2 separate regions of the Homo sapiens genome follow, and region 1 is linked to region 2. The links are contacts of gene promoters, found by promoter capture Hi-C in human tissues and cell types (Jung and others, 2019). All regions are on one chromosome and are shown on one strand. Each heading gives the region's core, a stretch centred on a gene start or on the middle of the fragment in contact. The rest is flanking DNA. Distances are from core to core; before and after follow the strand shown. Region 1 overlaps LINC01768 (long intergenic non-protein coding RNA 1768). Region 2 holds the start of AHCYL1 (adenosylhomocysteinase like 1).

Region 1 (5,111 bases), core at 1,433-3,932, 150 kb before region 2:
ATCAGAGCCCCTAAGATAACTTCTGGTAGCTTGGGACTCCTTGGGAAAAACAGAGGAGGTGCTGCAGACCCCGCTTTGGGGAAAAAAACCCAAAACACTCTGTTTTCATCATGAAACCCCAGGAATTAATAGCGGATAGATCCCTCTCAAAATCAAAGGCTTGTTCTGTTTTGCATTGTGTTGTCTGACGGTTTTGAGTTTGGGGGGCATCAGAAATTACTTTGCATTATGAGAGAGCTTTGGTGTGTAATAACTAGGTAGGAAATATACTCTAAGGGATGGCTAATAGTAGTTAGGGAGGGGTACTTGACTCTTTGCACACTTGGATCAGAGAAGCATGCTCTTGGCCACCTGGAAGATAAGGAGACATCCCCACCCCCCACTGGGAGATGAGACTCTCATGAGGGATGGGCTGATTGCAAAATGGGCTGATTGGCTTTGGGTTGCTTTGCAATGAAATGCAGGGTAGAAGCACTGCACTGTCCTCTCCAGTAGTATTTCCCTCCTTTTGGGATCCAGGATCAGTATAAAATGGCACCCTTAATTTTGGGGATGTGTCTCTGCCTTCAGCTGCTTATTTGCTGCTTATTTGGCCTTAGAAATGCATGCTTTCCAGGCCCTGTTCCTCCAAGGGCTCCACCCCGAAGCCAGTAATCCAATTAAGAAACTGGCAAATGAAAAACCTTACAAGTGCCTAATCTTCTCTCTGTATATTTATATGTGTTGTATGTTTAGATATAAAAGAGCTCTGATTAATTGGCTTAGAAAAATAAGCGCTTAAATCAAATATTTTGTCAGAAAAATAGAAATTTTAATGCCTTTTTTTCTCGTCATTTTAGTAATCTTTTGGAAATAAAGACAGTTTTAAAGATTATTGGTAAAATAAAATGTCTTGAAAATGTAGACATTTGGTCTAAATTAAGATCAGGTATCAGACTTGCTAAATATTTTAAGTTCAAACTGTTTCTTTGACTTTTGAAAATTGTTCGATTTACCTACTTTGGAGCATTAGATTATAGATAATTCCTGCGGACATGGGGAGAGCCATGTCCGCTAGCTATGCTAAAAGGAGTCAGACCTTATCTTCATTTCTGTCTGATGTCCTAGGCTCCACCCCTAGTACATAATTAAAATCGCTTACTTGTCAGGTTTTTCACTAAAAATAAAAGGTGCTAAGAGTTAACATTGCAACATGTAGTCGAGACCGCTGGAGAAACAGTTTTACATACAAGGTGTGTAGGGAATGTGTTTTAGGTAAAAGATTATAAGAAGGCATGGGAATATGGCTTTTGTTAAAGGGAATGTAATTTTGTCTAGTTCAGAGGGTTTTAAAGATTGTCTTAACCTAAAAGAGTAATGGAACAAAACTGAAGGTTTAAGCAAAGTGAAAAGGGTTTGAAAAGGGTTGATCTTGTAAAACTTCTGTGGGTATAAACAAGTTGGCTAAGATTTAAAAGAAATTATTTAGCTTTTCCCCATAGGTTAAAACATTAAAATCATACTGATGTGGGGCCAGAATCTGGGCCCATGTGTACGAATAACAGGGTTTTCTTAGAAAATTGATCTGCTGTTTGATGGAAAATTGTAAAGGGTTCTAAAAAGTTTATGAAAATCTTGCCTTATGGTGAAACTAATTAAAACTGGATAGAGATATAAAATTTTATCTAAAAAACTAGCTTTAACGTTAAAAGATGCACTAATGCAAACAAGAAATTTGGTTTTCTCTTTTGAAGATGATTTTTATGTAATGTTAAAAGATAATGAAAGGGTTTTGTTTTCTCCTTTGGGTAAATGGCAGGGAAAAAAAAGAGGAGAGAGATAAGAGACAGATTGAGTTGGCCTCATGCTATCTTCATTGGGTCTTGTTTGGAAAGCTAAGTCTTCTCTATCAGAGTGAAGGTTTTTCTTTTTTAAAAATTGTTTTGGAGTTATCAATTCGGCCAAATGAATGATTTACGGTGATCTGGGATCTATTTTGTGATATCCTGTGTTTTAAACCTTTGATATTTGACAAGCTTTCCAATATCAAATTATAAATTCTGTCTCTTTCTAACCTAATATTTTAGATATTAGGTTCTTTAAAGTCCAAAAATGACATTTGGCTTATTTGGTACAAAAATCACACAGGAAGCATTGTCTGTCTCATGCGTCCATGTGAACAGACCACCAAACAGGCTTTGTGTGAGCAACAAGGCTGTTTATTTCACCTGGGCGCAGGCGGTCTGAGTCTGAAAAGAGAGTCAGCGAAGGGTGGTGGGATTATCGTTAGTTCTTATAGGTTTTGGGATAGGCGGTGGAGTTAGGAGCAATGTTTTTCGGGCAGGGGGTGGATCTCACAAAGTAAGTTCTCAAGGGTGGGGAGAATTACAAAGAACCTTCCTAAGGTGGGGGAAATTACAAAGTACGTTGATCACTTAGGGTGGGGCAGAAACAAATCACAATGGTGGAATGTCATCAGTTAAGGCTATTTTCACTTCTTTTGTGGATCTTCAGTTGCTTCAGGCCATCTGGATGTATACGTGCAGGTCACAGGGCATATGATGGCTTAGCTTGGGCTCAGAGGCCTGACATTGTCAAATATGAAATGGTGTTTGGCTTTCTTTGGTCTCTATTTGTGTAAATGTGTTATTGGTATATGTTCTGAAGTAATGTAAAACTCCTATAATTCTAATATGACTTAGTCTATGTTATCTGTAATAATTATAATTATTATGTTAACAGACTGTGTGCTACAAAGGTAAATTTCCTTGTCAATTGTGTCTTTAACTGTGGCTGCCCTAAAATGTTTTTGTCATCCACAGATAATTGCTGTCTCGTTTTGGTCCTCTTTAAAAGATGGTTTTATAATCAGTTTTAAAATGTAACAGGTGCTCTTAAATGCAGGATTCTGATAAATAACTCTGGAGATTGTGACATTTGAATAGAGGAAAAACTTTCAAATAGAAGAGTGAAGGGTGTTTGGTTCACTTTGGACTGTATTTGTATAAATATATTATTAGTATGTATTCCAAAATTATGGGAAACTTCTACAATGTTGATATAATTTAGTGTACATTGATAATAATATTGTTATGTAAAATTGTATGCCATAGAAGTAATCAAAATTCCTAGTCAATTGTAGCTTTAATAGGGCTTTAAAATTTGTGCTATTGGAATAGAGAAAAAAACCAAACTTCTAGGACTGTCATGGAGAGCTAATGTGTTAAACATTGCTAAACATTTTGTTTCCAGAGTCAAGGGAACTTATTTCTTTAGAGGTATTTGCAACTTTTAACAAATGAATAAGATATACTCCTGAGAACAAAATTTGGAGCATATTTGTTCCTCTCTACCTGATTTCTCCAGAATTTGGAAATTATTTGTGAATATTCTCAATTTATGGCAGTATAGTTAATTGTGTAAGTGCAATAAGAAGCTATTTTCTTCTGTAACAGAACACAGTTGGAGAAACTGATTATTTTACCAAGGTTTTGAATGGAATGGCATGCTTCCTTTAAAGAATCAAAGTTGACTTATAGAGCCAATTAAAGCCTGTTGGGGAATCTGACCTCATACCTTGTCTGCACAGTGTCCCCGTACAAGGTTCCTGACCTGTGGTAAGTAAGGAATTTCACTTTCTAACAGGCCCAGGAACCCCAAGTTGTCTTGGGACCTCAAGAGGAGAGGAATTTGCCCAACTCATAGGTATTTGTCGGTACAAACCCACAGCTGGGCTTGGCTTTTAAAAAGTCTTATCTGAGATTCTTCATGGAACAGAGTTCTATCAAAGCCAATTAAAAAAGTCTACATGAAAAATAATTATTCTTGCTGTACTTTTTACAAATAATTAGGCCAATTACAGTAAGACTAAAGTTTATTTTGTAAACGAATCAGTTCTATCATGATTTGTTTTTAAAAAAATGAAGACTGGAGAGAGAAAATTTATGCTTCAAAAGAAAAACTATAGTACACTGTTGTTAGCTATTCTTGAGGTTTTTTTCTGTAGTTTAGACTAAATTCCAAATTCTTTGTGGGCTAGAAGTCCTCAAACTAATGCTTTCAAATCTTTGTTTTTAAAATTGGGAATTGTACTCCTCAGCCTAGGACTCATTATTTACCTTATAATAGGCTGTTTCACTTAAACACTGTAGTAAAACTATAGTTGAGAGTACTAATGTTTTTGCCATGAAAGCCCAGCCAGGCCTGCATGAGTCACTCAGACAGTTACAAAGCAGTTCAACTCTTCTCACCTTGGGATGCACTCCCATTTCCACTACGTCCTCTGTTGGCAGGAAGAAGCCAGAGCGATTTACAACCTTTTCCCATCTTCATAGCCTACATCGTAAGACGAGGGCATTATAAAACCCAAAGGGAAGGATTGAAACTGCCTTTGCAATATTATGACTGAGACAGTGAAAGAGATCTAAGTATACTGACTCCATCTTGTTTCTAACCTCCAAGCTGTCCTTGTAGGCTGGGCATAGACTGAACTAACTTTGGGAAAAAACTTAGTTTATAGTTTAAACAAAGATGGTAACAGCCCTTTCCCAAAGCAGGCCTCCTTCTTGCATGGGAACTAGATTGCCTTTGTAGGACTAACATTAGCTGCAAGATTAGAAATTATGGTTTAGGAGTCATGCAGCTGGAGGCTACAAGATTCTGAGCCTCCCTAAATAGCTTCCAAGATCAGAGCTTGAGATATTTTGCAGACCCTGCACTTAATGGATCAGCTGGCACCACTAAGATCAATAAACTGGCTCATCTGATCTTGTGACTCCCACCCAGGAACTGACTCAGTGCAAGAAGACAGGTCCGACTCCCTATGATTTCATCTCTGACCAATCAGCACTCCTGGCTCACTGGCTTAGTTATCTTTAAAAACTCTGCTCCCCAAATGCTCAGGGAGACTGATTTGAGTAATAATAAAACTCTGGTCTCCCACATAGCTGGCTCTGCGTGAATTACTCTTTCTCTATTGCAATTCACCTGTCTTGATGAATCGGCTCTGTCTAGGCAGCAGGCAAAGCAACTTTGGGTGGTTACACAATGAAAATATTAAGAAAAAATTTTAAATGTTTTACCGAGTTCAAAACAAGGAGACTATTTTATTGATTAAAATGGTTTGGGACTTA
Region 2 (4,772 bases), core at 2,181-4,680:
GAGATCAGCACCTCAGCTTATTTATCTCTGTAGTCCCGACTGACATCTAGCCCTGCTGCTGGCACTTCTTCGGCACTCAATATATATTTTATAAATAAAAGAACAAATGACTGAATGTAGAACATCAATTTGGGGGTGGACAAACAGTGAATCTGATTAACAAGACCAAGCCCACGTGTGGTAGCCCAATGCCACTACATTTCTGGTGACAGCATCTCCCAATTCACCACTGCCCTTAGGCCACTCCTTTCTAGCAAGGGTCTTCGCTCCAGGCCCTTGGAGACTTCCCACCACCACACACAGCAGGTGCATCTGTCTTTGGGTCCCTGTTCTTCTCCAATTGCCCCGTGGGGGGTCTCTCACCTGTGTGTGGATGCGCTGTTCAGGGCAGTGAGCTTGCCAGTAGAGGTGCTGAGTCAGGTGGGTGGGTAGGCTGAAGACAAGTCATCTCTTGGCATTCATGAGAAGCAATCGCCTTAGCTGTGCCATGTGAGGCTATCTTAGGATGGGTTTTGGGGGTGGGAGACAGGATGCAATGATTCTCACGGATGTTATGTTGTCACACTCCCTGGCTGGGTGAGCTCTTTGCTCTCCAGCACACACGTGATGGAAGGGATGGCAGCCACCCATGCCCCCTGCAGTGGCTGGTTTCCAAGAATGTCCCGGGCCCCTGGCCTCACTTGAACCACATAGGCCTAATGCTTTCCACCAGGGTAGGGGGTGCTGCCCTTCCCCTTTCCAGTCTGAGTCCCCGAACTCTCCTACATCAGCTCATCAACCTCCCCTCAGGCCAGCCACTCAGGTGAGTGGAGTCTGACCTGCTGATCTCCTTCTTAGCCCAGACTGCTAAGGTACTGCATGCTCTAGGCCTGGCCCTGTCTGTCATCCTCTGTAGCAGCAGCAATAGCAGACAACACTGTGAGCCTGGTGCTAGGGCAGACCTGGTCCAGGAGGAGTAAAGACTGAACTTCAATCTCCAGGAAGCTCACAGTCTGGATGCTTAAATGCACAGCAGAACTGGGGGACTGAGAGACAACATGTTTAGACAAAGTGAGTTCTAAAAATCAAATCCAAAAGACAGATACACTGATGCTTCTCTTTAAAAAAAAAAAAAAAAAAAAAAAAAAGATCTTCTTAAGTCACACATTTTTCTACTATAGGGACTTGAGATTTCATCCCTGGTTCCAATGGGTTCTGCCTCGAGTCTTTGGGCAGGCATCTCTGATCCCTGGGCTCTGCCAACAGTTTGGGCAAACCCACAAGGATGAAAGCCACTGTGAGCCTTATGTTCAGAGAGTCCTTAGTGCACCAGGTGTGGTTCCTGACCCCTAGCTGAAAGATGTCAGTCTGGCACCCTCATGGATGAACCTGGTATTCTGGTCTCCATCTCTGTTCCCGTTCTGCTACAGTGATGCCCCTGACAGGGAAGTGTGAGTGCTCAAAAAAGTGAGCAGATGAAAGAATACAAACAGTTCAAGACCAAGGTCTGCAGATGTGCAAAGGGTGCATTCTTCCAGGCACTTCTACAGCCCTTTTCAAACAGACAGTCTCATGAGGCTAGGTGGCTGGAACACAGGATTCCCTGACTAAGACTTTTAGGGCCCTAGAGGTGAATATTTCACACTCTCCCCAGCCCTGAACACAAATCAGTGGGGAAAATGCCATTTCAAACCAAAACTTCCTTCTTGAAAGGGTATGCCCTGTTAAAAACCTGGGAGGTTTCTGGATGTTAAAAGGTGGTCCTGGCCAGGCGCGGTGGCTCACGCCTGTAATCCCAGCACTTTGGGAGGCCGAGGCAGGTGGATCACGAGGTCAGGATCCGAGACCAGCCTGGCCAAGATGGTGAAACCCCGTCTCTACTAAAAATACAAAAATTAGCCGGGCACGGTGGCGCACGCCTATAGTCCCAGCTACTCACTCAGGAGGCTGAGGCAGGAGAATCACTTGAACCCGGCAGGCGGAGGTTGCAGTGAGCTGAGAGCACTCCAGCTTGGGCAACAGAGCGAGACGTCATCTCAAAAAAAAAAAAAAGGTGGTCCTGGGGAGGAATTTAGGGAAAGGGCACTGGGAAGACTGGAATTGCTCAGCACAGCAGAGGAGAATCTGGCTTCCCAGAGTCTATCAAGGAAGGAAGGATGAGGTGCAGAGATGGGAAGGGAGGAACAGGAGGAAGCTAGATTAGATGGCAATGGGCTAGGGAGCGTGGTGGGATCTTGTGGCCATTGAGAAATCCCCGGGTGGTAAGACAGCCAAAATAACTTTTCAGAACATTTCAGAAATGTGTTCTTAAATTGTTTGCTGTGTGATGTAATCTCTCCCCTGTGACCCACAAACCTTTATTAAAAGTTTTACTACATGTTACAGCCTTATTTTGTAGTTGTTTAGCATGGGGTGGGGGTTGAAAGGAGAAGCGGCTGAATTGACCCCAGGAGCTACAGAAACAGTCACAAGACCAGAATAGTGAATAAAATGCCAGACAAGGCAAAAAAACTAGAGCCAGAGGTGACCATGAAAATCCAAGTCCTCCCAGTAATGGACTTTCCACAGGACATGGTAATTGGAGCCAATGTCATTTGAATCTCAAAGGACAAGCTACCTCAGCTGACATTAGGATACAAGCAGGTTTTGCCTCTCCAGCTGAACTAAGCCTTGCAAAACATAAAATGCGTCACATGTCCTTTTGCCAGCAGGGCCTCAGCACAGGCACTGCACATAGTAGGCCCAGTAAAAGGGTGTGAGCAGTCCATGAATGTCCTGGATGCCCACTGAGAGCTGGAAGGGTCTAATGCTTTGGTGGAGCAAGGACCGGAAGGCCATTCTGGCTGGGGACTTCTCCATCAGCTCTCCTGGTCTCCACCCTCATACCCATCAGCCCTATCCCAATGAGGGTTTTGTAAACAGGCAAGGCCCAGTCGGAGATGGTGGTGGAGGAAGTCACAAAGCGTTGTGCAGAAACCAGACTACTCTGAGTCAGTTCTGCCCCCTATGAAGTCAAAAAGACAGGCACGGCCCCTTGGGAAGGAGCTTTAATCCAAAGGGCCTGGGGCTGGGCCAGTGAGTGAGTGGGCTGTCTCGAGCCCCGGACATTTCCTAGGAATCGCTGTAGGATGTGTCGTGTGGGGCTCTGGTCTTTGCTCCCAAACACCCCTTTCATGCGCCTCTGAGGCCTTGCCAGGAACCCCGCAGCCCAAAGACCCTCCGTTCCGCAGCATCGTTGCATGAACCTCGCGCTGCTCCCAGGGCTGATGGTGCCACCTGGTGGCACAAAGGGTCCTGCTCACCCTGGGAACTTCGCTCTCGAGCGGGAGAGGAACGGCTTCTGTGGCCCAGCCCAGCGTGGTGACGTCACGACAGAGTGCCCTTTCTCCCCGCCTCTTCCCCCTCCCGGGAGCTGCCAGTACTTGACGTGGCGTCACCGCCCTCTACCCTCGCTTTGCGTGCGTGTTTGCGTACAGCGGAGGTGGCGGCGCGGGCAGGTCGGAGCTCGGAGCTGCTGTTCTGGTTCTCTTGTGGCCGCCGTCGCTGTCCGGCTGCCTTGGGCTGCCGAACAGACAAGGCGTGGGCCACAGCACCTCAGAAGCCGACGCAGCTCGACGCAGGGGCCGGCAGGAGGGTGGGCGATCGCGTGTCGGAGGGCGCCGCGCGGGCAGGCGGGCGGGCGCCAGAGGGGGAAAGAGGCGGGGGCGGCGGGTCAGCCGCTGGCCGGGCCGGCCGGGGAATGTCGATGCCTGACGCGATGCCGCTGCCCGGGGTCGGGGAGGAGCTGAAGCAGGCCAAGGAGATCGAGGACGCCGAGAAGTACTCCTTCATGGCCACCGTCACCAAGGCGCCCAAGAAGGTGCGGGGGCTCTGGGTGGCGGCGGGGGCTCGGGCTCCGGCCTCGCGGAAGGGACGCGAGCAAGCCCGGGCTCTGGCTAGTTTGGGACTTCTGGGGGTGACTGGGGACGGCGGAGGTGATGTAGGGGGTGGCGGCTGTGCGGCCCCAGGCCTCTCCCGGGCTGAAAGGCCGCCTCTGACCTCGCTTTCCTTTGTCCCTCGGCCCAAGTCCTCCGGGATCGTTTTGAAACCCGACAGGGCCAGGCCTTAAATTTGCGACTGACTTTTCCTGGATGAAGGGCCTCGAAGACGAGAGTGGGAGGGGGTGAACCAACTCAGCTGACCCTTGTGACCAGTCCGGGGGCATGGGGTGTACAGAAAATCTCCCTTCAGGTGAGTGGGTAAATCTGGCAGAACTTCCATCAAATCTTTGGGAGCAGTGGCCGCTTTATCCAACAACTGCGTGATAGCTGGGAGGCAAGAGAAAAGAATGCGTGAAGCTAGCTCTGATATACAGGTGAAAGCGATGAGGGTAACATGAAACTGAAAATCTATGATTTTCACTTTCTACAGCATTCCAATTACTTCGAAATATGTAAGAAATTGACATTTGGAGGTTGGTGACAGCAGACACTGTCATGGATACAGGTGGATCCTAGAGTCATGTGAATAGATCACTTAGGCATCCCTGGAGAAAGGAGCTTGGGTGGGTTGGAGTAGTGGGTGGTAAGGGAAGATTGCTCACTCTTGACTGTACTTTTGAGGCAGAACAAGTTTGATCTATTGTGCTGTAGGTTGACTCAAAGGACACCCTTCGAATTCTCTCATAAATGGCAACCTTTGGAGATTTTAGTCTGACTAGCTCTCCGAGTGGTGGAATTGGGATCCTTATTGCTTTCTCATCATTTACTGCCAACCACATCTTGATTTTCCATACACCTGGCACCCAGTTAGCA

Evidence for each region. Contacts are between HindIII fragments. The study calls those that stand out against the background at their distance.
Region 1: a fragment that was not itself captured here is called in contact with the fragment with the promoter of AHCYL1 in region 2 in 1 of the 25 tissues and cell types used here (aorta).

What each region holds. Positions count from the first base shown.
Region 1 is chr1:109,834,741-109,839,851 of GRCh38, forward strand. The region is part of intron 4 of LINC01768 (long intergenic non-protein coding RNA 1768); the gene reads left to right. Among named protein-coding and RNA genes, the nearest start is that of LINC01768, 9.2 kb to the left of the region's middle. The HindIII fragment of the contact is 3,920 bases long and covers 723-4,642 here.
Region 2 is chr1:109,981,335-109,986,106 of GRCh38, forward strand. It overlaps AHCYL1 (adenosylhomocysteinase like 1), which reads left to right and starts at 3,431. Exons shown (of 17, transcript NM_006621.7): 1 at 3,431-3,838. The coding sequence starts at 3,719. RefSeq lists silencers at 3,657-3,726, 3,907-3,976. The HindIII fragment of the contact is 16,487 bases long and covers 1-4,772 here.